7 separate regions of the Homo sapiens genome follow, and regions 1, 3, 4, 5, 6 and 7 are each linked to region 2. Evidence: promoter capture Hi-C in 16 types of primary human blood cells and fetal thymus (Javierre and others, 2016). All regions are on one chromosome and are shown on one strand. The core of a region is centred on a gene start or on the middle of the fragment in contact, and the rest is flanking DNA. Distances in the headings are between cores, read along the strand shown.

Region 1 (3,205 bases), core at 590-3,089, 450 kb before region 2:
GAGACAAGCCTCTGACCTTAGGCACACATTACAAAAGCATGTTCCTGATTCTGCTTCCCAGCTGTCATAAAAATACTACTTCCTCACCCAAAATGTAGTATAGAATTTTTATCTTGGAATTTTTGTTAATAGGATGTCTTAAACTAATACTTCAGTATCTGTTCTAGACCTCTCTCCTTGGCTTGTAGATGATTGCCTTCTTCCTCTCTCTCTTCCCCAGGTCTCTTCACATTGTCTTCTCTGTGCATGTCTGTCTTTGTGTCCAGATTTCACCTTATAAGGATTTCAGTCATCTTGGATTAAGGCCCACCCTAATGACCTTATTTGAATTTGATTACCTCTTTGAAGACCATGTCTTCAAATAAAGTCACATTCTGAGGTACAGAAGGTTAGGACTTCAACATTTGAATTTTGGTGGGGGGGGACACAGTTCAGCTCATAACACCAGGTGCTAGGACAGTGCCTAGCACACAGTGGGCACCCAGAAATGTTCAGTGTGGCTAATATTTATCCTACGGTTCCATTGGAATGAGCCTTGATATCAAGGACACCCTCTTTACAGCAAGTGAAATGAGTTACTAATCAATTCCTGGTAGTGATTTTAACTACCTAGTTGTGCAGTCAGGTGCCTATAATTCATGGGTTTATAAATCTAGAGTCCTGGTCTCTGAGGTTTTGAATGACATAACTAATGATTATCCTGTCTTTTAAATTAGATGGTACAGAAGCACCAGACAGTTACATATTTTCTTAGATACTCACACTAAACTAATGGTGAAAGCAACTGCAGGTCTCTCTGACTTGAGAGCTACGCATAATGGTTAAGAACATGGACTCAGAAGCTCACCTGCCTGGGTGTGCGTCTCAGGCACCACAGCTGCTGGCTGAAAAAAGGCATTACATTTGGGAAGTCCTTTCCAATGAATGACTCATAACATAGAAACTGTATGAATAAAGCTGGTAAATTCACCTAAACATAAAGGGAAAAACAGCATGGCCAAAATTACATATATAAGTCTGATAGGGTGGCATACGTCTGTAGTCCCAGTTACTTGGGAGGCTGTGGCAGGAAGATCACTTGAGCCCAGGAGTTTGGGGCTGCAGTGTGCTGTGATCATGCCTGTGTACAGCTGCTGCAGTCCATCCTGGGTGACATAGCAAGACCACATCGCTTACAAAAAATTACATGTACATACACAAAATTTAAAATTCAGAAAAACCAGGGAAAATACTGTGGCTCATGTCACAGACCAAGGCTGATCTTTCTAATAAAGAACCATCAGAACTTAATCTAGGGGGAAAAAGATAACTATTGCAAAAATAACGATTATGGAGGAACTGCTTTCAAAAAAGGAAATATAAATGATTTTCAAACCTATGAAAAGATGCTCAGCCTCAAGGCAGTGAGAGGTCATTTTTTTCTGATCAGATCATCCAGAATCTTAGTATATATCTTTCTGTTTGTTCTTTCATGTTCTTTTGAAGTCTTCTAAAAACATGTACTTTGGTTTTACATGTCTCTTAAGTATTGGGGGAACCCGCCCCCAATATTTCAACGTAGGTTCTTTGTATTTTCCCTAAGTGTCGGCCAGCTGAGAAATAAAGAGAAAGAGTACAAGGAGAGGAATTTTACAGCTGGGCCTCCAGGGGTGACATCACATAACAGTAGGACCGTGATGCCCACCTGAGCCACAAAACCAGCAGGTTTTTATTAAGGACTTCAAAAGGGGAGGGGGTGTACGAACAGGGAGTAGGTCACAAAGATCACATGCTTCAAAGGGCAAAAAGGAGAACAAAGATCACATGCTTCTGAGGCCAATAAAGATCACAAGGCAAAGGGCAAAGCAAAGATCACAAGGCAAAGGGCAAAGCAAAGATCACAAGGCAAAGGGCGAAATCAAAAACTCCTGATAAGGGTCTATGTTCAGCTGTGCACATATTGTCTTGATAAACATCTTAAACAACAGAAAACAGGGTTGGAGAGCAGAGAACTGGTCTGACCTCAAATTCACCAGGGTGGATTTTTTTTCCCCACCCTAATAAACCTGAGGGTACTGCAGGAGACCAGGGTGTATTTCAGTTCTTATCCCAACCGCATAAGACAGACACTCCCAGAGTGGCCGTTTATAGACCTCCCCCCAGGAATGCATTCCTTCCCCAGGGTATTAATTATTAATATTCCTTGCTGGGAAAAGAATTTAGCAATATCTTCCCTACTTGCATGTCCGTTTATAGGCTCTCTGCAAGAAGAAAAATATGGCTGTATTCTGCCTGACCCCAAAGGCCATCAGACCTTATGGTTGTTTTCCCTTGTTCCCTGAAAATCGCTGTTATTCTGTTCTTTTTCAAGGTGCACTGATTTCATATTGTTCAAACACACATTTTACAATCAATTTGTACAGTTTAACACGATAGTGGTCCTGAGGTGATGTACATTCTCAGTTTATGAAGATAACAGGATTAAGAGAGTAAAGACAGGCATAAGAAATTATAAAAGTATTATTTGGGGAATGATAAAGGTCCATATTAAAATGAAATCTTCACAATTTATGTTCAGAGATTGAAGTAAAGAACTTGTAAAAGTATTAATTTTGGGAACTGATATATGTCCATATTAAAATGAAATCTACATAATTTATGTTCCTCTGCGGTGGCTCCAGCTCGTCCCTCTGTTCGGGGTCCCTGACTTCCTGCAACACTTAAGTTTCTTGTAGGTATTTTATTGGTTTTTGCTACTGCTTTAAATTTGATTTCTGTATTGTAGTTTGTACCTTGCCACCTTTATTGGACTTCCTTATTAACGGTAGTAATTTTTCAGTTGGTTTCTTGACTTTTCCATGAATTCATTTCATAATTTGCAAATAGTGATAACTTCCTTCTTTTTTTTTTTTGAGATAATGTCTCACTCTGTCACCCAGGCTAGAGTACAGTGGTGTGATCTCTGCTCACTGCAACCTCTGCCTCCTGGGTTCAAGCAATTCTCTGCCTCAGTCTCCCGAGTAGCTGGGATTACAGGTGCCCACAACCATGCCTGGCTAATTTTTTGTATTTTTAGTAGAGATGGGGTTTCACCATCTTGGCCAGGCTGGTCTTGAACTTCTGACCTCGTGATCCACCCACCTCGGCCTCCCGAAGTCTAGGATTACAGGCGTGAGCCACCGCTCCCTGCTGATAACTTCCTTCTTGACTTATTTTTCAGATGCAT
Region 2 (3,109 bases), core at 46-2,545:
CACCGGCGGGCGGGCGGGAGTCACTGCGAATATAGGAAGCAGGGGCGATTTCAAATGCTGCTTTATTCTTACAAATACTGTAAAAATTAATATAAAAAAGTGAGCATGCTCAGTCTTTTCCTCTTATCTACAATACAAAGGGTTTGTCTGAAAAGTCTGGTTTTTTTTCTTTTTACAAATGTACCTTAGCTGCATCAACAGGAGTAAGATGTAGAAAAAGCTACCATTACAAAAATAATTTAAGGGAAAATAAACACGTTTAGCTTCTCTCGCAGTTTAGTGGTGGTAAGTCCAGGCTGTAGCTTCTTTGCGCTCCTATGTCCCAAGAAACTGCAGCGGGCACCCGGCGGCTCTGGCTGCGCCAGGGCAGGGCGCGCTCCGCTCCGGGCCGTCGGGTCTGAGGTATGGGTCGTTGCTGAGTCTCTCCCGCCCCGGCCGCGCGTTACCGGCAGTCTGCTGTCCCGGCGGCCGGCAGGAAGGGCGGGCTGGGCAGCTGCTTGAAGAACTGCCGGAGGCCGGCCAGGTCCCGCGTGAGCTGCTCCACGCGCTGGTGCAGCTTCTCGTTCTCAGCCGACAGCTCCACCAACTTCTGCTGCATCTCCTGGTTGCGCCGCTTGGCCTTGTCGCGGCTCTTGCGCACGGCGATGTTGTTGCGCTCGCGCCGCTGCCGGTACTCGGGGCTGCCGCGGTCCGGGCCCCTCTTGCCGGCGCTCTTCTCCCGGGCGGGGCCGGGCGCGGGGGTCTGCCTGGGGCTGCTGCGCGGCGGCTCCGGCGACGTGGGCGGGGTGGGCTGCCCTGCGGCCGCCAAGCTCACCACGGTCTGTGCGCACGCGGCCACCTGCGCGGGCAACAGCGAGCCGGGCGCGTCGCCGTCGCCCCAGTCGGGCTCGCGCTTGAGCAGGCGGGGAGCGGCAGGGCCCGGGCCCAAGGGGCGCGCGGGGCCGCCGGGAAGAAGCTCCAGGGGCCCCGCGCCGCCCGCCTTGTGATTGCTGTTGAAGAGGTCGGCGAAGAGCTCGTCGTGGCACAGCTCCAGGGTGGGCACGGCGGCCATGGAGTCGATGTAGGCGCTGAAGTCGATGGCGCTCTCGTCGTCGTACATGGCGGGGGCGGCGGCGCCTGGCTCGCCTAGGGCCCCTGGCTCGGCCCCGCGGCCCGGCTTGCCCGCCCGGCCCGGTTCGTAGAAGGGCGCAGGCTCCGCAGGCCAGGGCGCGCCGCGCGCCGGGCCGTCCAGGCTGAAGAGCGCGGCGCTCATGGCGGCGTCGGGCCGGGCTCTGCGTCCAAGCGAGGCTGTCACCTCGCTGGGCCCAGCCCCGCCGCCTTTTCTAGCCCCGGCTGACGTGCACGCCCCGCCCCGACTCCGGCACCGCGGGGGCGCCCCGGGGCCGCGGGGGAAGGGGCGGGGGCGCCCTGGGAGCCCCCCGGAGCCGCCCCGAGCCTTCCCGGGGCGCGCCCCCTCTCAGTTCCTCCCCGGGGCCCCCTCCCCGGCCCTGGGGACCCCCAGCCCACGTTGCAGGAGGGTGCCCGCGCTGCTGCTCCCTCCCCGGCCCGGGCCGGCCTGCGCTGCGCTGCTGGGAATGACACTCCCTCTGCCAGCACTCCAGGGCCTTCTCTTCTTCCTGTTTGTGGGCTTGGAACCTCCTCGCTCCTCGGGGTTGGGAGTGAAATCAAAACCAGGACTTGGCCGCAGCGCGCGCGTCCCAGGCCGGCTCCTGTCGCCGGAGGGCGGGGGGTGGAGACCCGTGGGAGAGGACCCGCGCGTCCAAGGACGCCCCCCGACCGTGGGCACGCGCGTGAGGCCCTCGCCCCGCGCCTCCACCGTGGGACCAGATGCGGGAAGAGGCGTGGGGGACCAGACGTGGGGACAGCGGCGGCCTGGCAGGCGGGGAGGGCTGCCCGCACCGCACTCGGGCGCCTCGGGGAATCCGGGCCGGTTCTCGCTGCTCTCCTCGGAGGTCCCGGGTCCGGCCGGCCCTGGGGGTCGAGGCCCAGAGACGCGGCTGCTGCGTCCTGGCCGAAAGGCCGACGGGACGCTGTCGCCAAAAGCAGAGCAGATGGGGGAGACGCGGTCACGACACCGCGTCCTCCGCCGGCTCCTCGAGGTGCGGGCTCTCCGGCCGGACGCTACTCCCCGACCCCGCAGACCCGGGCGTCCGCCGCCAGCTCCCGCGCCCGCGTTTCTTCCAGGTCTACGGAAGCAGTGCCATCGTGTGGCGGCATCTTGCGTTAGACCTGTTTTTAGTTCCAGGCTCTTTCCCTGTTAAATATTCCAAAAAAGTGCCTTGAACCTAAAGTAGTTGGGTCCTTTTTGGGAAACAGGTAAGATCTACCAGTAGCTATAGCAGGGTGCAGATGGGCCTCGACTCACGATGGGGTTACATCCCGGTAGACCCATCGCACACTGAAAATGTCTTAAGTAAGAATGGGCTTTGTCATGTGTCCTGCAATTTGAGGCAGGCATTTCTGGTCAGACCCATTTATTATTTTAAATTAAAAATATGGTTTTTTTCAGCCGAGCACAGTGGCTCATGCCGGTAATCCCAGCATTTTGGGAGGCTGAGGTGGGCGGATCACTTGAGGTCAGGAGTTTGAAACCAGCCTGGTCAACATGGTGAAACCCCATTTCTACTAAAAATACAAAAATTAGCCAAGCGTAGTGGCGTGCGCCTGTAATCCCAGCTACTCGGGAGGCTGAGGCAGGAGAATCGCTTGAACCCGGGAGGCGGAGGTTGCAGTGAGCCGAGATCGTTCCATTGCACTCCAGCCTGGGCGACAGAGCGAGACTCCATCTCAAAAAAAAAATTGAGATGGGATCTCACAATATTGTCCAGGCTGGTTTCAAACTCCTGGGCTTAAGAGATTCGCCGGCCTCAGCCTCCCAAAGTGCTGGGATTACAGGCGTGAGCCACCATGTCGGGCCCAAATCCATTAAATCACTATCGCTAGTCACACCTGCTCCATGTCGAGTCTCTTCCTGCGCAGGCCTCTCACCAGATCTGCGTCGGAACACCAAGCTCTACTAACTGCTGTGCAGTTTCTGCAGTCAGTTCCAGAGGTCATTTCTAACGTTGCACTATGGGATATTTAATAGGTTTCCTAAAGAACAAACATA
Region 3 (2,986 bases), core at 223-2,722, 420 kb before region 2:
TGTGCTGCACCCATTAACTCATCATTTAACATTAGGTATACCTCCTAATGCTATCCCTCCCCACTTCCCCCATCCCACAACAGTCCCCGGAGTGTGATGTTCCCCTTCCTGTGTCCAAGTGTTCTCATTGTTCAGTTCCCACCTATGAGTGAGAACATGCGGTGTTTGGTTTTTTGTCCTTGCGATAGTTTGCTGAGAATGATGGTTTCCAGTTTGATCCATGTCCCTACAAAGGACATGAACTCTTCATTTTTTATGGCTGCATAGTATTCCATGGTGGATATGTGCCACATTTTCTTAATCCAGTCTATCATTGTTGGACATTTGGGTTGGTTCCAAGTCTTTGCTATTGTGAATAGTGCCGCAGTAAACATAGGTGTGCGTGTGTCTTTATAGCAGCATGATTTATAGTCCTTTGGGTATATACCCAGTAATGGGATGGCTGGGTCAAATGGTATTTCTAGTTCTAGATCCCTGAGGAATCGCCACACTGACTTCCACAATGGTTGAACTAGTTTACACTCCCACCAACAGTGTAAAAGTGTTCCTGTTTCTCCACATCCTCTCCAGCACCTGTTGTTTCCTGACTTTTTAATGATCACCATTCTAACTGGTGTGAGATGGTATCTCATTATGGTTTTGATTTGCATTTCTCTGATGGCCAGTGATGGTGAGCATTTTTTCATGTGTTTTTTGGCTGCATAAATGTCTTCTTTTGAGAAGTGTCTGTTCATATCCTTCACCCACTTTTTGATGGGGTTGTTTGTTTTTTTCTTGTAAATTTGTTTGAGTTCATTGTAGATTCTGGATATTAGCCCTTTGTCAGATGAGGTAGGTTGCGAAAATTTTCTCCCATTTTGTAGGTTGCCTGTTCACTCTGATGGTAGTTTCTTGTGCTGTGCAGAAGCTCTTTAGTTTAATTAGATCCCATTTGTCAATTTTGGCTTTTGTTGCCATTGCTTTTGGTGTTGTAGACATGAAGTCCTTCCCCATGCCTATGTCCTGAATGGTATTGCCTAGGTTTTCTTCTAGGGTTTTTATGGTTTTAGGTCTAACATTTAAGTCTTTAATCCATCTTGAATTAATTTGTGTATAAGGTGTAAGGAAGGGATCCAGTTTCAGCTTTCTACATATGGCTAGCCAGTTTTCCCAGCACCATTTATTAAATAGGGAATCCTTTCCCGAAAACTGGCACAAGACAGGGATGCCCTCTCTCACCACTCCTATTCAACATAGTGTTGGAAGTTCTGGCCAGGGCAGTCAGGCAGGAGAAGGAAATAAAGGGTATTCAATTAGGAAAAGAGGAAGTCAAATTGTCTCTGTTTGCAGATGACATGATTGCATATCTAGAAAACACCATCATCTCAGCCCAAAATCTCCTTAAGCTGATAAGCAACTTCAGCAAAGTCTCAGGATACAAAATCAATTTGCAAAAATCACAAGCATTCTTCTAGACCAATAACAGACAAACAGAGAGCCAAATCATGAGTGAACTCCCATTCACAATTGCTTCAAAGAGAATAAAATACCTAGGAATCCAAACTTACAAGGGACGTGAAGGACCTCTTCAAGGAGAACTACAAACCACTGCTCAATGAAATAAAAGAGGATACAAACAAATGGAAGAACATTCCGTGCTCATGGGTAGAAAGAATCAATGTCGTGAAAATGGCCATACTGCCCAAGGTAATTTATAGATTCAATGCCATCCCCATCAAGCTACCAATGACTCTCTTCACAGAATTGGAAAAAACTACTTTAAAGTTCATATGGAACCAAAAAAGAGCCCGCATTGCCGAGTCAATCCTAAGCCAAAAGAACAAAGCCGGAGGCATCACGCTACCTGACTTCAAACTATACTACAAGGCTACAGTAACCAAAACTGCATGGTACTGGTACCAAAACAGAGATATAGATCAGTGGAACAGAACAGAGCCCTCAGAAATAATGCCACATATCTACAACCATCTGATCTTTGACAGACCTGACTTCTTATCAGAAATAATGCAGGCCAGCAGGCTATAAACACCTTTAAAGTACTGGGAAAATAAAAATCAACTCAGAATTCTGTAGCCAAATAAGAAAACATACTTTCTAGCTAAGAAAATCTTTATACTACAAGAAATGTTTAAGGAGATACTTCAAGCTGAAGGAAAGTGTTACCAGCTGAAACTCAGAACTTCAGGAATGAAGAGCACTGCAATTGGTAAAAATGTAAGTCTTCCCCACTCCATTAAGAAATATACAGTTGTGACTGTTTAAAGCAGAAATTATAATGTTACAATATGGCATTTATATATGACTGCTGTGTATAAAGGATGAGTCTAGGTTGATGGAGCTGTGTGCTTACTGTGGTCTTTATTTTATGAAGGGGTAGAATTAGCTTTAAGTACACTGCAAAGTTAAAGATATACATTATAATTCCTAGAACAAACACTGGAAAAGAAAAAAATGCAAAGAGGTGATAACTAAAAAACAAGAGAAGTCAAAATGGAATTCTGAAATGTATTTAGAGAAAATGAAAAAAGGTATAAAGGAAGGAACAGCAGAATATAAAACAAATGAGATGTGTGTCAGTCTGTTCTCATACTGCTAATAAAGACATACTCGAAACTGGGTAATTTATGAAGGAAAGAGGTTTAATTGACCCAGTTCAGCATGGCTGGGGAGGCCTCAGGAAACTTACAATCATGGAGGAAGGGGAAGCAAACATGTCCTTCACAGGGTGGCAGCAAGGAACAGAATGAGAGCAAAGTTGGGGGAAAGCCCCTTATAAAACCATCAGATCTCCTTAGAACTCACTCATTATCACGAGAATAGCATGAGGGTAACTGCTCCATGATGCAGTTACCTCCCACCAGGTCCCTTCCACGACGTGTGAGGATTATGGGAACTACAATTCAAGATGAGATTTGGGTGGAGACACAGCCAAACCATATCAGGATGTAAAGAAAACAAATAGCAAACTTACAAACCTAGGTCAGGT
Region 4 (3,323 bases), core at 375-2,874, 370 kb before region 2:
TTTTTTGAGACAGAGTCTTGCTCTGTCACCCAGGCTGGAGTGCAGTGGTGCAATCTCAGCTTGCTGCAAGCTGTGCCTCCCGGGTTCACACCATTCTCCTGCCTCAGCCTCCCAAGTAGCTGGGACTACAGGCGCCCGCCGCTACTCCCGGCTAATTTTTTTGTATTTTTAGTAGAGATGGGGTTTCACTGTGTTAGCCAGAATGGTCTCGATCTCCTGACCTCTAGATCCACCCACCTCAGCCTGAGATTACAGGCGTGAGCTACCACGCCCAACCTTTTTTAAAAAAAAAAAAAAAAAATTAGGTCAAAGAGTATTTCAGACTCTTCACTCTCCTAGTTTCCCTTCTTCCCGCCCCAGGCTCTGGCAGTGATCTCTGGGGAGGAAGCTTGTTGGATAGCTACTTTCCACAATGCTTATGTTTGGAACCGTAGTGAACAGTTATTTATGTTATCGAAATGATATTTTAAAAAAAATACTCCCTTTCTGATTTTGCCATCCATAGAACTGAACTGTGCTCTATACTACAGTTCAGTTTGGGGACCCCTGAGCTCACGTTCTAGTTAGGAGGGTGTGGTGGCCAGCTACCAGAGTGGTATCTAGGTGGTTTTTCTGTTCTGTAGGTTTTTTTTTTTTTTCTCTCTCTGTCTCTCTCTCTTTCATTTTGGTGGTAGGTAAGGAAAATCACATCACTCTCTTCTAGCAAGGTCTATGAGCTATTTTGGGGACATGAAGGAACGTGGTAGATACCCCTGTAGAGGGTCTACACTCATTTGAAGGTAGGATTCTTTGTTCTAAATACACTTGGATCATTGTTTCAGGAGAGAACATGGAGAATGGGAAAATAAGCTTTTTGTGCTCACTCATTGCTTCTGTAAAAGTATTAATTCTTCAGCTAAATAGGAAATAAAACGTTTGGTTCTTGATGAAAGTATTTTGTACATTTTGCCTAGAACAGTAACTGGTCACATTTAATCCTGTATAGGCTTGAAACTGACCTCAGCCTCTTCTAGACTCTCACAGGGCTTCTGCCTTCTTGGACAGCAAGCCAGGGTTACTATGAGTCGATGTTCCTTTGGTCCCTTCTGTGTCCTTGACCTGTATTCTGCAGCTGGAGCCTCCTGGTAGCTCCCAGCTGAAGTTCACCTGGAGAGTTACTGCCATCGTGTTGGCCTAATTTGGGTCAAAAGTAATCAAAAGAACCCTGGCTCTTGTTCCAAGAAGTGTTTTTGATGCAGAGCTTCAATGCAAGTTTTGTTTTTCAGTATGTAAGGTGTGACGAACCTACCCCAGAAGGAGGGAGTCATTCCACTAGTTGGTTCGGGGTGCGCAGTTGTTTAATTATCAGTTTGGCAGGCCCCAGTTTTTCTTCAGTTCACAAATAGAATTCTCATTTGGAATATATCCAATGTTCATTTGGTTTCTTTCAGTTGCAGCAAATCTTACTATGATTTGAGGTTTTTAAATACTATGTTTTTCAGGAAGTCTTTTCGGTGGCATTTTCTGATAATGCCAGCCTGATAATCCAAAAAAAAGTCTGTTAAAAAGCAGATTTGCCTGTAATCATTACCTTTTTTCTGAGTTTGTAATCAGACCTTGTCTTGAATCTGTAAATCCTGTGGAGTCTCAGGTGATTTTCCTGACTTTCCCTGCATGCATGGAGGCAGGTAGCAGATGGATGGGCCTTTATGCCCCGTCATGTGTGGGTGCCCTGGCAGAACCCTGCTGCTGCCCTCCGTCTTCCCCACAGCAAGCCTGTGGCCATTACAACTTGTGCTTCTCTGTGCATGTACAGCACAGCATCTGTAGCAAAAGGAGTCTGCAAGTATTTTGGAGAGTAAGACCTGCATGGCTTGTTTCCTTCTGCCAGAGAACCTAGAACAGGCAAAGACATACATGTGTTTTTCCTTTGGAGGCATCAAGCTCCTTCCTGGACATTGAACTTTATAACAATCTGTGGGTGAATCCGCCCTATTCCTGGACTTGCAGAGAGGGTCTCCCTGGCCACCTTCCACATTCACGTGGTCCAAGTGGCATGAGAAAGGATGGAAGCCTCCTCACACCTGTCCCCATTTACCTTTCCCTATCGGCAAACATCATTATTGTGTTCTTCCAGAGACTTAAATAAATGTTTTTGAAGATATGTTGCCTGCCCTTTATAGACACATGGCAGCAAGTTCCACAACTGCTCAGGAGACCCATGCACATCTTAGCATGCCTCGGGTCTTTCCGAGCAACATGGGAAGGTTTCTTTTTTAACCCCCATGGTGTGCAGCCTTGCATTGCATGGCAGTACCCTCATCTGTTTAGCTGTCCTCTCTAGGCGGACTTTCAGATTGTTTCCCATCTTTTGCATGTGAAAATGCACATTTTCCAAGTTCTGTTCCTTTTCCTGCATTAAAGCTTCTTGACCTTTTTCCTAGAATTTTTTGTTTACTCCTGTTTTAAGAGTTTTAAATTTTATTTAATTGAAACATGAAATAAATGTACTTTTCTATGCCTCTGGGCTGTTATTTATGCTGTTAATTCATTCATGCAGAGGCAAGGGTGGATGACCTATTTTATTAACCTCTATTCTAAAGACTTCTTCCAGGCAAGTAAAGATAAAGAGATTATAAAAATAGGTGAAAGGTCAGGACAGGAAGTGCAGATTGGATTGTGAGAAAAAAGAAAAGCAAAATGCATTTAATTTCTTGTGTGTGCTGCATAAATGCTATGGGATAAGAAAAAATATGTATGTTTACACATACATGCACAAGCACACACACACACACACACACAAACACACAGAGTTCCTGATACAGTGGGAAAGGTAAAATGTACCTATTAAAAAAAAGACATGAAGCCAAAGCAAGGTAAAGATAAAACCAGGTGGTATAGGTCAGAGGACAGCAAGTAAGTTGCAGATGAGAGTGATGAGACGTCTTTTTGGAGCTGACCGTTCCCTGCTTGGGTGTGTCTGCCTGAGAGAGCAGCTGAACAGAGGCTGAAGGTGGGGTCAGAAGGTGAGGCGTCCCAGGGACTGAGGGTGTGGTGTGGCATTGGATGACGGGGTTTGGAGTATGACTTTGGGGTCCAGGGGACACTGTTAGCCTTAAGTGCTGGGATGAGGAGCTTGGATAGCTGTGATTAGATTGTGGGGGCTGTGGTTCCTGAAGAGGAGAGCATGGAGCACAGTGTTAGGGACTTTCTTGGGAGATATGTGTAGGATAGGGCAAGGCTGTGCACAGACAGAAAGAACAGGAAAGAGAAGGGAGGTCAGTGCAGGAGACCAGTGTTTCTAATGATTCTGCTCTAGGTACGAAGTGTGTTTCAGAGTGGCG
Region 5 (3,202 bases), core at 97-2,596, 410 kb before region 2:
GCCTCAGCCTCCCGAGTAGCTGGGACTACAGGCACCCGCCACCACGCCCGGCTGATTTTTTTGTATTTTTAGTAGAGATGGGGTTTCACCGTGTTAGCCAGGATGGTCTCGATCTCCTGACCTCATGATCCGCCCGCCTCAGCCTCCCAAAGTGCTGGGATTACAGGCGTGAGCCACCGCGCCCGACCCAATTTTTGTATTTTTTTGTAGAGACAGGGTTTCACCATGTTGGCCAGGCTGGTCTCTAACTCCTAGCCTCAAGTGGTCTGTCCACCTTGGCCTCGCAACGTGTTGTATTACAGGTGTGAGCCACTGTACCCAGCCTACAATATGTTTTTGAGTGAGATTTCATGGGTTGCTTTAGTGCTTATCAGGTACATCTCAACCAAATCTTCCTTAGATTTGTTACTAGTTTTATGCCAGTCACGCATAGAAACATTACCACTATATGGCTCTACTTTCTCTTCCTCCTTTTTATGCTATTATTGTTATACATATTGTATCTGTTATAATTATTAGTATAATTTTGTCTTTTATAGAAGGGAAAAGAAAGGAGAGCAAGTATACGTTTATAGTGTTAGATGACCCTTCTTATTTACCATTTTTTGTTCTCTTCATTGGTTCCTATGGAATCCTGTTACCATCTGGTGGTGTTTCCTTAGTTTGGTAAAGCTTTGTTCCCACCCACCACTCTTCTGTTACTCACAGATATATGACATTTCTATATGTTATAGGTACAATAGTACAATTACGTACATATTTTGTGCAGTTTTTTAAAATCAGCTAAGAAAACAAATACGCACATATGCTGAGTTTTAATTAGATAATTACTTTTACTGACACCCAGATTTTTCATGTGGACTTGTGTGGATTCTTAGGTCACTTTCCTTCAGCCTTAAGAAATTCTGTGTGTATATTTTATCAGGTGGGTCTGCAAGCAATAATCAGTTTTTGTTTATCTAAAAATGTATTTATCATGCCTTCATTTTTTTGGTGGTGGTGCTTTTCTTAAGGTGCTTTTTTTTTTTAAAGCATCTTTAGTTTTACAGAAAAACTGAAAGGAAGGTACAGAGGTATCCCATAATTCCCTCCCCCACATATGCATAGCTTTCCTATTATCAACATATCCCCCACCAGAATGGTATATTTGTTACAGTTGATGAACCCGTGTATACACATCTTTCTTACGCAAAGTCACTAGTTTCTATCAGGGTTAATTCTTGGCGTTGTATATTCTGTGAGTTTGAACAAATGTATAAAAATATATGTCTACCATTATGTCATACAGAGCAGTGACACTGCACTAAAAATCCTCTGTGCTCTGCCTAGTAATCATTCTCTCCACCCTAATCTCTCGAAACCACTGATCTTTTTACCATCTCTATAGTTTTGCCTTATCCAGAATGTCATACAGTTGGAATCATATAGTATGGCTTTTTTGGAGTGCCTTCTTTCACTTAGTAATATGTATTGAACTTTCCTCCATGTCTTTTCATAGCTTGATAACTTATTTCTTTTCAGCACTGAATTATGTTCCATTGTCTGGATATAACACTTTATCCATTCATCTACCAAGAGACATCTGGGTTGCTTCTAGGTTTTGGCAATTATGATTGAAGGTGCTATAAACATACATTTGGAAGTTTCCGTGTGGAGATAAACTTTCAACTCCTTTGAGTAGATACCAAGCAGAGCAACTATTGGATTGTATTGGTAAGAGTATTTTTAGTTTTATAAGAAACTGCCAAACTGTCTTCCAAAGTGGCTGTAACATTTTGCATTCCCACCAGCAAAAGAGTTCCTGTTGCTCCATATTCTTGTCAGCATTTGGTGGTGTCAGTGTTAGGAATTTTAGCCATTCTAGTAAGTATGTCATGATATCTCAGTGTTGTTTAAATTTGCATTTCTCTGGTAATATATGATGTGGAGCATCTTTTCTTGTACTTATTTGCCATCTGTATCTGTATCTTCTTTGGAGAGATATCTGTTAAGGCTTTTGGCCAATTATTAGTTTCTAAGGTAAAGCTTAGATTATTGATTTTGATCATTTTTCTTTTTTAAAGCAGTCAGATGTCATTTAGTGATCAGAATACATCCTGAAGAAATGTGTCATTATTAGGTGATTTTGTCCTTGTGCGAACATCATAGAGTGTTCTTACTCAAACCTAGGTGGTTTAGTCTACTACACACCTACACTATATGGTTAAGCCTATATCTAGGCTGCAAACCTTTATAGCATTTTACTGTACTGGATACTGTAGACAATTGGAACACAAAGGTAGTTATTTATGTATCTAAGCATAGAAAAGGTACATTATAATATGGCATAAAAGATAAACAGTGGTATACATGTATAGGGCACTTACCATGAATGGAGCTTGTAGAACTGAAAGGTGCTCTGGGTGAGTCAGTGAGTGAGTGTTGAGTGAATGTGAAGGCCTAGGACATTACCATACACTACTATCAACTTTATAAACATAGTACACTTAGACTACACTAAACTTATTTTTAAAAATTTTCTTTCTTCAATAATAAATTAATCTTAGCTTACTGTAACGTTTTTACTTCTTCTTCATTTTTTTCACTTTTTGACTCTTTAGTAATACCACTTTGTAATAGCTCTTTTGTAATAACACTTAGCTTAAAACATAAACATATTGTTCAGCTGTACAGAAGTATTTTTTTTTGAGAGAGAGTCTCTGTTGTCCAGGCTGGAGTGCAGTGGCGTGATCTCAGCTTATATATTCTGTCAGCTTTTTTCTATTTAAAAAATTTTTTTAAACTTTTTTTTTTTTTTTTTTTTTCTCTTTTTTTTTTTTTTTTTTTTTTATTATACTCTAAGTTTTAGGGTACATGTGCACATTGTGCAGGTTAGTTACATATGTATACATGTGCCATGCTGGTGCGCTGCACCCACTAATGTGTCATCTAGCATTAGGTATATCTCCCAATGCTATCCCTCCCCCCTCCCCCGACCCCACCACAGTCCCCAGAGTGTGATATTCCCCTTCCTGTGTCCATGTGATCTCATTGTTCAATTCCCACCTATGAGTGAGAATATGCGGTGTTTGGTTTTTTGTTCTTGCGATAGTTTACTGAGAATGATGGTTTCCAATTTCATCCATGTCCCTACAAAGGATATGAACTCATCATTTTTTATGGCTGCATAGTATTCCATGGTGTATATGTGCCACATTTTCTT
Region 6 (3,453 bases), core at 446-2,945, 390 kb before region 2:
ATTTCTGTGGGATTGGTGGTGATATCCCCTTTATCATTTTTTATTGCATCTATTTGATTCTTCTCTCTTTTCTTCTTAGTCTCTCTAGTGGTCTATTTTGCTGATCTTTTCAAAAAAACAGCCCCTGGATTCATTGATTTTTTGAAGGGTTTTTTTGTGTCTCTGTCTCCTTCAGTTCTGCTCTGATCTTAGTTATTTCTTGCCTTCTGCTAGCTTTTGAAGGTGTTTGCTCTTGCTGCTCTAGTTCTGTTAATTGTGATGTTAGGGTGTCGATTTTAGATCTTTCCTCTTGTGGGCATTTAGAGCTATAAATTTCCCTCTACACACTGCTTTAAATGTGTCCCAGAGATTCTGGTATGTTGTGTCTTTGTTCTCACTGGTTTCAAAGAACACCTTTATTTTTGCCTTCATTTTGTTATTTACCCAGTAGTCATTCAGGAGCAGGTTGTTCAGTTTCCATGTAGTTGAGCAGTTTTGAGTGAGTTTCTTAATCCTGAGATCTAACTTGATTGCACTGTGGTCTGAGAGACAGTTTGTTATGATTTCTGTTCTTTTACATTTGCTGCGGAGTGCTTTACTTCCGACTATGTGGTGAATTTTGGAATAAGTGTGATGTGGTGCTGAGAAGAATGTATTTTCTGTTGATTTTGGGTGGAGAGTTCTGTAGATGTCTATTAGGTCCACTAGGTGCAGAGCTGAGTTCAATTCCTGGATATCCTTGTTAACTTTCTGTCTCGTTGATCTGTCTAATATTGACAGTGGGGTGTTAAAGTCTCCCATTATTATTGTGTAGTAGGAGTCTTTAAGTCTCTTTGTAGATCTGTAAGGACTTGCTTTATGAATCTGGGTGCTTCTTTATTGGGTGCATACATATTTAGGATAGTTAGCTCTTCTTGTTGATCCCTTTACCATTATGTAATGGCCTTCTTTGTCTCTTTTGATCTTTGTTGGTTTAAAGTCTGTTTTATCAGACTAGGATTGCAACCCCTGCTTTTTTTTGTTTGTTTTCCGTTTGCTTGGTAGATCTTCCTCCGTTCCTTTGTTTTGAGCCTATGTGTGTCTTTGCAGGTGAGTTGGGTCTCCTGAATACAGCACACTGATGGGTCCTGGCTCTATCCAATTTGCTCGTCTGTGTCTTTTAATTGGGGCATTTAGCCCATTTACATTTAAATTTAATATTGTTAGGTGTGAATTTGATCCCGTCATTATGATGTTAGCTGGTTATTTTGCTCGTTATTTGATGCAGTTTCTTCCTAGCCTCGATGGTCTTTACAATTTGGCATGTTTTTGCAGTGGCTGGTACTGGTTGTTCCTTTTCATGTTTAGTGCTTCCTTCAGGAGTTCTTTTAGGGCAGGCCTGGTGGTGACAAACTCTCTCAGCATTTGCTTTTCTATAAAGGATTTTATTTCTCCTTCACTTTTGAAGCTTAGTTTGGCTGGATGTGAAATTCTGGGTTGAAAATTCTTTTCTTTAAGAATGTTGAATATTGGCCCCCACTCTCTTCTGACTTGCAGAGTGTCTGCCGAGATATCCTCTGTTAGTCTGATGGGCTTCCCTTTGTGCGTAACCTGACCTTTCTCTCTGGCTGCCCTTAACATTTTTTCCTTCATTTCAACCTTGGTGAATCTGACAATTATGTGTCTTGGAGTTGCTCTTCTCGAGGAGTATCTTTGTGTCGTTCTCTGTATTTTCTGATTTTGAATGTTGACCTGCCTTGCGAAGTTGGGGAAGTTTTCCTGGATAATGGATAATATGCTGAAGAGTGTTTTCCATCTTGGTTCCATTCTCCCTGTAACTTTCAGGTACACCAATCAAACATAGATTTAGTGTTTTCACATAGTCTCATATTTCTTGGAGGGTTTGTTCGTTTCTTTTTACTCTTTTTTCTCTAAACTTCTCTTTTCGCTTCATTTCATTCATTTGATCTTCAGTCATCTGTCTTCCACTTCAATGAATCGGCTGCTGAAGCTTGTGCATGCGTCACGTAGTTCTCGTGCCGTGGCTTTCAGCTCCATCAGTTCATTTAAGGTCTTCTCTGCGCTATTTATCCTAGTTAGCCATTTGTCTAATCTTTTTTCAACGTTTTTAGCTTCCTTACGATGGGTTTAAACATCCTCCTTTAGCTTTGAGAAGTTTGTTATTACCGATATTCTGAAGCCTACTTCTGTCAACTTGTCAAAGTCATTCTCCGTCCAGCTTTATTTGATTGCTCGTGAGGAGCTGCGATCCTTTGGAGGGGAAGAGGCCCTCTGGTTTTTAGAATTTTCAGCTTTTCTGCTCTGGTTTCTCCCCAACTTTGTGGTTTTATCTACCTTTGGTCTTTGATGATGGTGACCTACAGATGGGGTTTTAGTGTGGATGTCCTTTTTGTTGATGTTGATGCTATTCCTGTCTCTTTGTTGGTTTTCCTTCTAACAGGACCCTCAGCTGCAGGTCTGTTGAAGTTTGTTGGAGGTCCACTCCAGACCCTGTTTGCCTGGGGATCACCAGTGGAGGCTGCAGAACAGCAAATATTGCAGAACAGCAAATGTTGCTGCCTGATCCTTCCTCTGGGAGCTTCGTCTCAGAGGGGCACCCGGCTGTATGAGGTGTCAGTCAGCCCCTACTGGGAGATGTCTCCCAGTTAGGCTGCTTGGGGGTCAGGGACCCCCTTGAGGAGGCAGTGTGTCTGTTCTCAGATCTCAAACTCCATTCTAGGAGAACCACTGCTTTCTTCAAAGCTGTCAGACAGGGATGTTTAAGTCTGCAGAAGTTTCTGCTGCCTTTTGTTCAGCTATGCCCTGCCCCCAGAGGTGGAGGCTACAGAGGCAGGCAGGCTTGTTGAGCTGCAGTGGGCTCCAGCCAGTTCGAGCTTCCTGGCCAGTTTGTTTACCTACTGAAGCCTCAGCAATGGCAGTCGCACCTCCCCCAGCATCGCTGCCACCTCGCAGTTCTATCTCGGACTGCTGTGCTACCAGTGAGCAAGGGTCCGTGGGCGTGGGACCCACTGAGCCCGGCGCGGGATGTAATGTCCTGGTGTGCTGTTTGCTAAGACCATTGGAAAAGCGCAGTATTAGGGCGGGAGTGTCCCGATTTTCCAGGGACCATCTGTCATGGCTTCCCTTGGCTAGGAAAGGGAATTCCCTGACCCTTTGTGCTTCCTGGGTGAGGCGATGCCCCGCCCTGCTTCGGCTCACACTCCGTGGGCTGCACCCACTGTCCAGCCAGTCCCAGTGAGATGAACCCGGTACCTCCTTTGGAAATGCAGAAATCACCCGTCTTCTGCGTCGCTCATGCTGGGAGCTTTAGACTGGAGCTGTTCCTATTCAGCCATCTTGGAATGATCGGGTTTTTCTTAATAATCCAACAAATTTGCTGTTATTGTAATCCCCATTTTAATGAAATTTGTATGAATGGAATTATGTAAATTATAACAAAGAATATTTGCAGATTCCCAAGAAAATGCTCTGAGC
Region 7 (2,939 bases), core at 8-2,507, 470 kb before region 2:
AATACAACATAAAACTCTCATGATTTATCGAAGTTGTTGTGCATATCAGTAGTTTCTTTGTCTTTTTTTTTTTTTTTTTTGAGTTGGAGTCTCACTCTCTTGCCCAGGCTGGAGTGCAATAGCGCGATCTCGGCTCACTGCAACTTTCCGCCTCCCCAGTTCAAACAATTCTCCTGCGTCAGCCTCCCAAGTAGCTGGTACTACAGGCACCTGCTGCCATGCCTGGCTAATCTTTTGTATTTTAGTAGAGACAGGGTTTCACCGTGTTGCCCAGGCTGGTCTTGAACTCCTGAGCTCAGGCAATGCAATCCACCCACCTCGGCCTCTCAAAGTGTTAGGATTACAGGCATGAGCCACTGTGCCTGGCCAATAGTTTCTTTGTTTTAATTGCTGAGTAGTGTTCCATATAATGGATATACCAGAGTTTGGATTAACATTTATTATTGAAGGACCTCTAGGCTGTTTTCAGGTTTTGGTTATTGCAAATAAAACTGCTATAAACATTTGTGTACAGGTTTTTGTGTGAACATAAGTTTTCATTTCTCTGAGATAAATGCCTAAGTATGTAATTGCCAGAACCTATGGTAATTTGATGTTTAACTCTATAAGAAACTGACAAACTTTTCCAAAGTGGTTATATCTGTATAATTTTGCAGTCCCATTGGCAATGTTGTTATTCAGTTTTATAGATAATAAAATCTACCCTTTTAAAGTGGAAAATCCAGTGGTTTCTAGTATATTTACAGAGTTGTACAAATGTTCCTAATTGTAGAATATTTTCATGACCCCAAAAAGAAACCCCATAGCTATTACTAGTCAGTCACTCCCCATTCTCTCTTCCCTCATCCATTGGCAACCACTAAGCTACTTTCGGTGTGTATGGATTTGCCTATTCTGGACATTTCATATAAAGTGTGGTCATTTTGTGACTGGCTTCTTTCATTAAAAATAATGTTTTCCAGGTTTATACATGTTGTTGCATGTATCAGTACTTCATTCCTATTTATTTTGAATAAATTTTTTATTGCATGGACATACTGCATTTGAAAAATCCATTTATTAGTTGATAGACATTTGGATTATTTCCACCTTTGGGCTGTTAAGAATAATGTTGCTTTGAACTTTTTTTTTTAATTGAGATCCGGTCTCATTATATTGCCCAGGCTGGTCTCAAACTCCTGGCTGGGCTCAAGAGATCCTCCCATCTCAGCTTCTCAAGGTGTTGGGATTACATCCGTGAGCCATCGCACCTGGCCTGCGTTGAACATTTGTATATGCATTTTTATGTAGACCTAAGTTTTTCTTTCTCTAGCAGTGGAATTTTTGGGTCACATAATAACTGTATGTTTACATTTTGGATAACTGTTAGAATTTTCCAAAGTGGTTGCACCTTTTACAGTCTCACCAGCAAGGAATGAACATTCTAATTTTGCCACATTCTTGCTAACACTTGCCATTGCCTGTCTTTTACTTTTAGTCATCCTAATGGTTATGAAGTGTTACCTCACTGTGATTTGGTTTGCAGTTCCCTAATGAGATTGAGCATCTTTTCATGTACTTATTGGGCATTTCTGTATCTTCTTGAAGAAATGTTTATTCAGCTTATTTGGCTGCGTTTTCATTGGGTTATTTGCTGTTTTATTGTGGAATCACGAGTTCTTTAAAATTCTGTATACTGTTCCCCTATAAGATGTATGATTGCAGATATTTTCTCTCATTCTTTGGGTTTTCTTTTCATTTTCTTATTGAAGTACAAATGTTTTTAATAATTTTGATGAGGTCCAATTTGTTTTTTCTTTTGTTTCTTGTGCTTTTCGGTGTCATGTCTAATAAATCATTGCCTAAACCAAGGTCACAAAGATTTATTCCTATGTTTTCTTCCAAGAGTTACAGTTTTAGCTCTTACATTTAGGTCTGTGATTCATTTGGAGTTAATTTTTCTACACACTGTGAGGTAGGGGTACAACTTCATTCTTTTCGATGTGGATACCCAGTTGTTTCAACACTGTTTGTTGAAAAAATTGTTCTTTCTCCTTGAATTGTCTTGGCACTTTTTTGTTTTAATTGAAAATCAGTTGACCATAAAAGTAAAGGTTTGTTTCTGGTCTATGAATTCTATTCCACTGATCTCCATGTCTGCCTTTATTCTAGTACCATACTGTTTTAATTACTGTAACTTGGCAGTGTTGAAATTAGAAGTGTGAGTTTCTGACTTGTTTTCTGTTTTGAGATTTTTTTAACTGTTTTGGGTTCATTACATTTCCATATGAATAATAGCAGCTTGTCAATTTCTGCAGAAAGCCATCTGGGATTTTGATTTTGTTGAATATATAGACAAATTGGAGAGTATTATCATCTTAACAATATTATTTCCCATGAGCATGGGTTGTCTTTTCATTTATTTAGATCTTCTTTAATTTCTATCTATGTTTTACAGTTTTCAGTGAAAAAGTCCTGCACTTCTTTGGTTAAATTTATTCCTAAGAGTTTTATTCTTTTTGATGCTATTTTGAATGCAGTTCTACTGGCACATGCTGCTGCACGTGGCTAATATTTTTTGTTAATTTTTTGGTAGAGATGGAGTCTCGCTGTGTTGCCCAGGCTGGTCTCAAATTCCTGGGCTCAAGGGATGCTCCTGTTTTGGCCTCCCAAAGCTCTGGGATTATAGGCATGAGCCAGCCGCACCCAGCTCCATTGATTTTTTTAAATATTGAGATTGTATCCTGCAACTTTGCTGAACTCATTTATTGGTTCTAATAATTTTTTGGGTTTTCTGAAGTGTGGATTCCTTAGGATTTCCTGTGTACAAGGTCATGCAGCTAGGCATGGTGGCTCACACCAGTAATCCCAGCACTTTGGGAGGCTGAGGCGGGTGGATCACTTCAGCCTAGGAGTTCGAGACCAGCCTGGGCAACATGGTAAAACTGAGTCTCTACAAA

What was found. Contacts are between HindIII fragments. The CHiCAGO score rates a contact against its expected background, and 5 or more counts as called.
Region 1: a fragment that was not itself captured here is called in contact with the fragment with the promoter of CEBPD in region 2 in 6 of 17 cell types (neutrophils, monocytes, M1 macrophages and 3 more); the score reaches 24.6 in neutrophils.
Region 3: a fragment that was not itself captured here is called in contact with the fragment with the promoter of CEBPD in region 2 in 11 of 17 cell types (neutrophils, monocytes, M1 macrophages and 8 more); the score reaches 35.2 in neutrophils.
Region 4: a contact is called between a fragment that was not itself captured here and the fragment with the promoter of CEBPD in region 2, in 7 of 17 cell types (monocytes, M0 macrophages, neutrophils and 4 more). The highest score is 13.1, in monocytes.
Region 5: a fragment that was not itself captured here is called in contact with the fragment with the promoter of CEBPD in region 2 in 9 of 17 cell types (neutrophils, monocytes, M1 macrophages and 6 more); the score reaches 17.6 in neutrophils.
Region 6: a contact is called between a fragment that was not itself captured here and the fragment with the promoter of CEBPD in region 2, in 1 of 17 cell types (monocytes). The highest score is 6.4, in monocytes.
Region 7: a contact is called between a fragment that was not itself captured here and the fragment with the promoter of CEBPD in region 2, in 7 of 17 cell types (neutrophils, monocytes, M2 macrophages and 4 more). The highest score is 22.8, in neutrophils.

What each region holds. Positions count from the first base shown.
Region 1 is chr8:47,285,413-47,288,617 of GRCh38, forward strand. All of the region lies in intron 3 of SPIDR (scaffold protein involved in DNA repair), which reads left to right. Among named protein-coding and RNA genes, the nearest start is that of SPIDR, 26 kb to the left of the region's middle. The HindIII fragment of the contact is 8,846 bases long and covers 1-3,205 here.
Region 2 is chr8:47,736,869-47,739,977 of GRCh38, forward strand. It overlaps CEBPD (CCAAT enhancer binding protein delta), which reads right to left and starts at 1,296. Exons shown (of 1, transcript NM_005195.4): 1 at 45-1,296. The coding sequence starts at 1,252. The coding sequence ends at 443. RefSeq lists an enhancer at 320-1,258 and silencers at 655-844, 1,335-1,444, 1,485-1,564, 1,655-2,124. The HindIII fragment of the contact is 19,422 bases long and covers 1-3,109 here.
Region 3 is chr8:47,311,806-47,314,791 of GRCh38, forward strand. The region is part of intron 5 of SPIDR (scaffold protein involved in DNA repair); the gene reads left to right. Among named protein-coding and RNA genes, the nearest start is that of SPIDR, 52 kb to the left of the region's middle. The HindIII fragment of the contact is 5,254 bases long and covers 1-2,986 here.
Region 4 is chr8:47,363,218-47,366,540 of GRCh38, forward strand. The region is part of intron 5 of SPIDR (scaffold protein involved in DNA repair); the gene reads left to right. All of the region lies in intron 1 of LOC107986940 (a long non-coding RNA gene), which reads right to left. Among named protein-coding and RNA genes, the nearest start is that of SPIDR, 100 kb to the left of the region's middle. The HindIII fragment of the contact is 1,554 bases long and covers 848-2,401 here.
Region 5 is chr8:47,329,183-47,332,384 of GRCh38, forward strand. The region is part of intron 5 of SPIDR (scaffold protein involved in DNA repair); the gene reads left to right. Among named protein-coding and RNA genes, the nearest start is that of SPIDR, 70 kb to the left of the region's middle. The HindIII fragment of the contact is 1,353 bases long and covers 671-2,023 here.
Region 6 is chr8:47,346,783-47,350,235 of GRCh38, forward strand. The region is part of intron 5 of SPIDR (scaffold protein involved in DNA repair); the gene reads left to right. Among named protein-coding and RNA genes, the nearest start is that of SPIDR, 88 kb to the left of the region's middle. The HindIII fragment of the contact is 543 bases long and covers 1,425-1,967 here.
Region 7 is chr8:47,266,068-47,269,006 of GRCh38, forward strand. All of the region lies in intron 1 of SPIDR (scaffold protein involved in DNA repair), which reads left to right. Among named protein-coding and RNA genes, the nearest start is that of SPIDR, 6.6 kb to the left of the region's middle. The HindIII fragment of the contact is 3,553 bases long and covers 1-2,939 here.